Regions from separate parts of the Homo sapiens genome. Here region 2 is linked to region 1. The links are contacts of gene promoters, found by promoter capture Hi-C in human tissues and cell types (Jung and others, 2019). All regions are on one chromosome and are shown on one strand. Each heading gives the region's core, a stretch centred on a gene start or on the middle of the fragment in contact. The rest is flanking DNA. Distances are from core to core; before and after follow the strand shown. Region 1 holds the start of FAM219A (family with sequence similarity 219 member A). Region 2 has its middle 12 kb from the start of SIT1.

What was found. Contacts are between HindIII fragments. The study calls those that stand out against the background at their distance.
Region 2: a fragment that was not itself captured here is called in contact with the fragment with the promoter of FAM219A in region 1 in 1 of the 25 tissues and cell types used here (spleen).

Annotation. Positions count from the first base shown.
Region 1 is chr9:34,457,104-34,460,236 of GRCh38, forward strand. FAM219A (family with sequence similarity 219 member A) reads right to left here and starts at 1,467. Exons shown (of 6, transcript NM_001184940.2): 1 at 1,101-1,467. The coding sequence starts at 1,160. DNAI1 (dynein axonemal intermediate chain 1) reads left to right here and starts at 1,702. Exons shown (of 20, transcript NM_012144.4): 1 at 1,702-1,950. The coding sequence starts at 1,903. RefSeq lists enhancers at 1-133, 1,265-1,805, 1,368-1,662, 1,759-1,828 and a silencer at 1,139-1,388. The HindIII fragment of the contact is 10,660 bases long and covers 1-3,133 here.
Region 2 is chr9:35,637,116-35,640,248 of GRCh38, forward strand. It overlaps a transcript of CD72 not described here. Among named protein-coding and RNA genes, the nearest start is that of SIT1, 12 kb to the right of the region's middle. The HindIII fragment of the contact is 4,615 bases long and covers 1-3,133 here.

The sequences.
Region 1 (3,133 bases), core at 217-2,716:
CTCAGAGAAATGGGGCATCCACACTTTCGGATTTGTAGCCCACCTTGCCTCCTTCCAATTCCAGCTCAGGCTCCAGGGGGATAAAGCGAACACAGCCTAGACATTCCCTCTCTTCCCCCCTCACTATACGAGCTGGCTAGGCCTCCACGTCTCCCACCCGGTTGCCTGACAGACAAGCGAGGTCAGGGAGCCCCCTGGGCGGTGGCCAGCAAGCATGGTCTCCCTTAGGCCTAGCCTCGGTGCACCCGAGTTGCCCTCCCCCTTCCATTCCCTCCGCGCCAGCAGCGATGACATCATTCCTCCCTGACTCCGGGACCGCGGACAGGCGGCAGGATCCGCGCCCAGCAAGGACTTCAGGCACGTAGGCCTAAGATGATGGGGGCTCTTCCCAACCAGTGCGCACAGGCAGCTCCAGCGCGACCCCACTTCCTCTCCCGTCGGTTCCCGAGCACTCTCATCTGCACCCCGATTCCCCATCTGGTCGCCGCGCACTCTCCTTCCCGGTTTAGATGCCCCCAGCCTGGTCTGCCTGCGCTCCCCACCGGAGAACGGAATTCCCAGGTTCTGCACCAACCACCTTCCCCCACTGGGTCCCTCGCCCCGGCCCAGCGTTCCTGTCCGTATATCCAGCGGACAGGCGGGCAAGCCCCTCCTCTTCTAAAAGCTGATTCCCAATCTCTCTTAGCCTGACGGCTCCCCCGCCCTAAGCATCACAGGCCTCTAGGACTAAACGCCTCCCCACCTCCCATCCCAGACCCCTGGGCCTGCCGCCGGCGGTGCCCCATGGCAGTTCCCTCGCCAGTCCCTGCTATGGGCCTCCACTAGCGGTGTGCACCTTTGTGCCCCCTCCGTTCCATCCGACGGTGCCCTGCTTCCACCGACGGTGCCCTCCGCCCTTACAGGTCCCTTTGCTCTCATCCAGCATATTCTCCCACGGTTTTCTTGTCCTGCAAGTCCCCGTCCCCCGGCAATACGTTTTCAGGGATCTCTTTGCCCCATCCGATGGCGCCCCTCCGCACGATCCCCCCGGCCTGATTCCCTCCCTCCCCCTCAAGCGACGCCCCCTCCGGCCTTGGCCTGCCCGCCGCCCGCCCCCTCACCAGCGGCTGCATCTCCGAGTGCGCGGTGGGCACCTGGAACCGGTCGATCTCCTCCATCATGGTGCCGGCGGGCGAGCGGGCCAGGGGCCGGGCGCGGCCGCGGACGCCGACAGGACCGCGCGGGGCGGCGGCCCCAGGAGCCCGGCGGGTGGTGCAGACTAGGCCTCCCCGGACCACTCGGGCGGGCAGGGGCCGGGCGGATGCAGGGGTGGGCGGGGGCGAGAGGTTCGCAGACTGGCTGAGGCCGGCGTGACTCCGTGGGCTTGCCTAGCACTACCGCGGCTGTGGCCGGGCCGAGCCGCAGGTCTTGCCTCGCCTCCTACTCCGCTGCCGCCTCCTGTCAGCAGCTCAGCCACTGCGGTGACTCGGCAACTCCACTTCCGGGTCCGGGACACCGCCCGGATCTTGCATTATTCATGAGGAGGCGGTGCCTGGGGACCCCAGCCCCACCCACATGCGGGAGTTCCGAATGCGCGCGGCCGCCCAGCTGTGATTCCTGAGGGGGCGGGGCTTAGTGGAGACTCGCTCGCCGCGCGCCCAACCCCGCCTCCTTTCCGGGCCGGCTGGGCGCGCCGAAGCGCCTGCGCCTTGGCTGCTGGTCGGTTGCTGGGTAACCGCGTCAGGGAGTTGGATTCTATCCTGCAAGGGCACGGGGACCCACAACGACGGCTGTCCCTAAAGAACCGTTGCGACTGGTAACTGAAGTGGAAGAGAGTCCAGATTTCTTGTGTGTGGTCAAGGAGACGGACAAACTTTTTGTCTTCAGACGAGGGAGCGTTTTGTAGGCTCTCCAGGGGTTGAGATGATTCCTGCTTCTGCGAAGGCTCCCCATAAACAGCCTCATAAGCAGGTAACGTACGCACACCTTCCTTCTGATGACCTCTGACCTTCGTCGTCGCCAGTGACCACTAATCATACCTCTCCTACTGATCCTTGATCTTTTCTCTGTTGACCCCAGCCTTCTCACCCCCGTGACCTCTGGTAAGTGCTCCCACTGACCTCTGACTCTGTCCTACTCTTTCCCACTAATCCCGGCCTCCTCTCCCATACTACCCCAATCCACCGTTTCTTACCTCTCTCCTTTTATCCACCATTCCCATCTCTTCACTTCACTTTACCCCATGGACTCATTCTGACCAGTCTATTCTCCTTAACTTCCCCATCCCCATTCCCACGAGTCCCTTCCTCCTTGTTCTCACATTCTTGTCCCAAAGGAATTTTTCTTTTTCTTTTTCTTTCTTTCTTTCTTTTTTTTTTTTTGAGACAGAGGCTCGCCCTGTAGCCCAGGCTAGAATGCAGTGGCGCCATCTCAGCTCTCTGTAACCTCTGCCTCCTGGGTGCAAGCGATTCTCCCACTTCAGCCTGACGAATAGCTGGAACCAAAGGCATAGGCCACCACGCCCGGCTAAATTTTGTGTTTTTGGTAGAGACGGGGTTTCCCCATGTTGCCCAGGCCCGTCTCTAACTCCTGAGCTCAAGCGATCCTCCTACCTTGACCTTCCGAAGTGCTGGGATTACAGGCGTGAGCCACGGCGCCCAGCCTCAAAGGCATTCTTTATCCAACCCTTTGCTGTGTGCCTAGCTCCAGGCTAGGTGGGAACACAGCTCTTGCTGTTTGGGAGCCCACAGAGGGTGTGCAAGAGAACTAAACAGAATACAGGACAGGCTATGTGCAGGAGTGTGATTTTATTTTCTGTGCTGGGAGATTTATGAGGAGAGAAAGGGCAGGCAAAGAGGAAGAGGAGAGAGGCCCTTTTCTCATCCCTGTCCTCACCCCCACAGTGCACAACCCAAACACTCTGCCCCAACTATTTCTAGAGCCTCATATCTCTCTCTTCCCTGCGAGCCCCTGGTCCACTCCTATGATTCATTCAGCTATGTGAACATTATGCTCTTATTACCACCTGGACAGATGTCATCCCTTCTCACAGGAAACCCGAGTCATCCCCCACTTAACCCACTGAGCACAGAGTTCTGCTTTCTTCCTCAGCATCACCACGGAAGGCAAGGCAGTCCCAGTTTCCCAAGGAGTC
Region 2 (3,133 bases), core at 412-2,911, 1.2 Mb after region 1:
TCTCCCCACGCTTGAGAACGTACTTTGTAAGAAGATCTACCCCCTGCCCGCAAAAAATTGCTCCTAACTCTATCGCCTATCCCAAAACTATAAAAACTAATGATAATCCCATCACCCTTTGCTGACTCTCTATTCGGACTCAGCCCGCCTGCACCCAGGTGAAATAAACAGCCTTATTGCTCACACAAAGCCTGTTTGGTGGTCTCTTCACACAGACGTGCATGGCATTTGGTGCTGAAGACCCGGGACAGGAGGACTCCTTCGGGAGGCGGGTCCCCTGTCCTCGCCCTAACTCTGTGAGGAGATCCACCTACAACCTCGGGTCCTCAGACCAACCAGCCCAAGGAACATCTCACCAATTTCAAATTGGGTAAGCGGTCTTTTCACTCTCTTCTCCAGCCTCTCTTGCTACCCTTCAATCTCCCTCTCTTGCTACCCTTCAATCTCCCTGTCCTTCCAATTCCAGTTCTTTTTCCTCTCTAGTAGAGACAAAGGAGACACATTTTATCTGTGGACCCAAAACTCCGGCGCTGGTCATGGACTCAGGAAGACAGCCTTCCCTTGGTGTCTAATCACTGCGGGGATGCCTGCCTGATTATTCACCCACATTTCATTGGTGTCTGATCACCACGGGGATGCCTGCCTTGGTCATTCACCCACATTCCCTTGGTGGCAAGTCAATTGTGGGGACGCCTGCTTTGGCTGCTCACCCACATTGCAGCCCAGGGCTGCTCATCACCCCCTGCTCCGTGTCTCTACCTTTCTCTTTAAACTTACCTCCTTCACTATGGGCAACCTTCCACCCTCGATTCCCCCATCTTTTCCCTTAGCCTGTGTTCTTGAAAACCCCTTCAACTCACACCTGACCTAAAACCTAAATGCCTTATTTTCTTCTGCAATACCACTTGGCCCCAATACAAACTCGAAAATAGTTCCAAGTGGCCAGAGAACGGCACTGTCAATTTGTCTATCCTACAAGACCTAGATAATTTTTGTCGAAAAATGGGCAAATGGTCGGAGGTGCCGTACATCCGGGCGTCTTTCACACTTCATTCTCTCCCTAGTCTCTGTTCCCAATGCGACTTGTCCCAAATCCTCCTTCTTTCCCTCCCACCTGTCCCTTCAGTCCCAACCCCAAGTGTTGCTGGGTCTTTTGAATCTTCCTTTTCTACCGACCCATCTGACCTCTCCCCTCCTCCCCAGACTGCTCCTCCTCAGGTCGCTCCCCACCAGGCTGAATCAGGCTCCAGCTCCTCTTCAGCCTCCGCTCCCCCACCCTATAACCCTTCTATCACCTCCCCTCCTCACACCCAGTCTGGCTTACAGTTTTGTTCTGCGACTAGCTCTCCCCCACCTGCCCAACAATTTCCTCTTAGAGAAGTGGCTGGAGCTGAAGGCATAGTCTGGGTACATGCGCCTTTTTCTGTATCAGACTTTTCCCAAATCAGCCAGTGTTTGGGCTCTTTCTCATCAGACCCCGCTAAATATATACAGGAATTCCGATATCTAACTCTGTCCTGCAAGTTAACCTGCAGTGACTTAAATGTCATCCTGACTTCCACCCTCTCCCCAGATGAACAGGAAAGAGTTTTTTCTCTAGCCCAGTCTCACGCTGACAACCGCTGGCTTCATGAGCCAGGCCTCCAGGAAGGCATCAGAGCAGTTCCCCGAGAGGACCCCCAAAGGAACTATCAGGCAGATTCCCCAGGTATAGCTAGGCGAGATTACATGATTTCCTGCCTAGTTGAAGGGCTTAAAAAGGCAGCACACAAAGCTGTTAATTCTGACAAGCTAAAGGAAACTACCCAAGGTAAAGGCGAAAACCCAGCCCAGTTCCTGGCCCGCTTGGCAGCAACCCTTAGACGCTTTACCGCCCTAGACCCAGAGGGGCCGGAAGGCCGCCTTATTCTTTTTTTTTTTTTTTAGATGTATTTTACTTTTATTTTTTTAATCTTTGGGCACAAAGATTTGACACATTATTTCAAAAGAATACAACTACTCATCCAGTAGGAATAAATTCAACAAACATTAATTGATGAGCAAAGTACTGGCTTTAAAAAAATAAACTAAGTAAATTTTTTTTCCCTTGGGTAATAAAATAATAATAAAAGAAGAGACATTGGGTTAAGCACCCTTAGGGCAAAATAAAAATGCAATTGGTTTCTCAAAAACTTGCTTTTGACATCTCAAAAAAAGTCATGCTAGGGAAATGAGCTAAGAAAGCACATTGTTATTTGTACGTGGTAGTGTGACATCCTTGCCATGTTGAAGGTAAGACCATCTAAAGGTCAAGACAGTACACAGAGACTATAAAAACAAAATTGAAATAAAAAGCAGGATAATAAAATGAAAGGAAAAGTAGAAACTGCCAGAAAGAAGCAGAAGCAGCACAACTGTCAAGGAGACAGTGTAAATTCAGATGCCATCAAGCTTTACCACAAAGAGATAAAGGAAAAGGCCAATTTTGATGACAAATGACAAAGTGTAACATCCAAAGAGAAATGGAGAAAAAAGAGGTCATCTGTCCTCCTGTGAACATTTGAATAGTTCTCAGATACACTTAGTTTGAGCAGAATTATGTGATTACTGAGTTCTTCCCTCTCTGCTTGGCAAAAATGATGGAAGTCTTGTCTCCAATTTTAACCCTATTTGCCTTTTTGCAACAATATGGCAGGTTGTTTACATGCTGGCTGGGGAAAGGGAAACTAAGAGTAAAAACCAACCAGTTGTTACTTTGCAAAATGGAAATGTAACTCTGAGGATTAAGCAATCTTGACTGCTAACAAAATTAATTCCTGAACACCATGAAAAAGGAAAAAATACATAGAAATTGATATTTTAAACGTTAAATATTCAGCAGTTTCTCTTATTTGGCAAAATCTTTTTGAAGCAAAGCTGATCTCATTTTGGTTTAGATCACATCAAAGAATTTCCACCAAAAATGACTGAATTATTGCTATTTACTAAAATGGTTTTCATTCTGTGACATTTTTCTGTTTCAACCAAAATTGGTGTACTAAAAGCCATTTCTGGCACTGACCATCTACAGTTAGTGCAGACTCCATAAGTTAAGGGCTTAATCCTTCACAAATCTTCTCTTCAGATTCCAGCTGTACTTTGGGGGTCCCCAGGT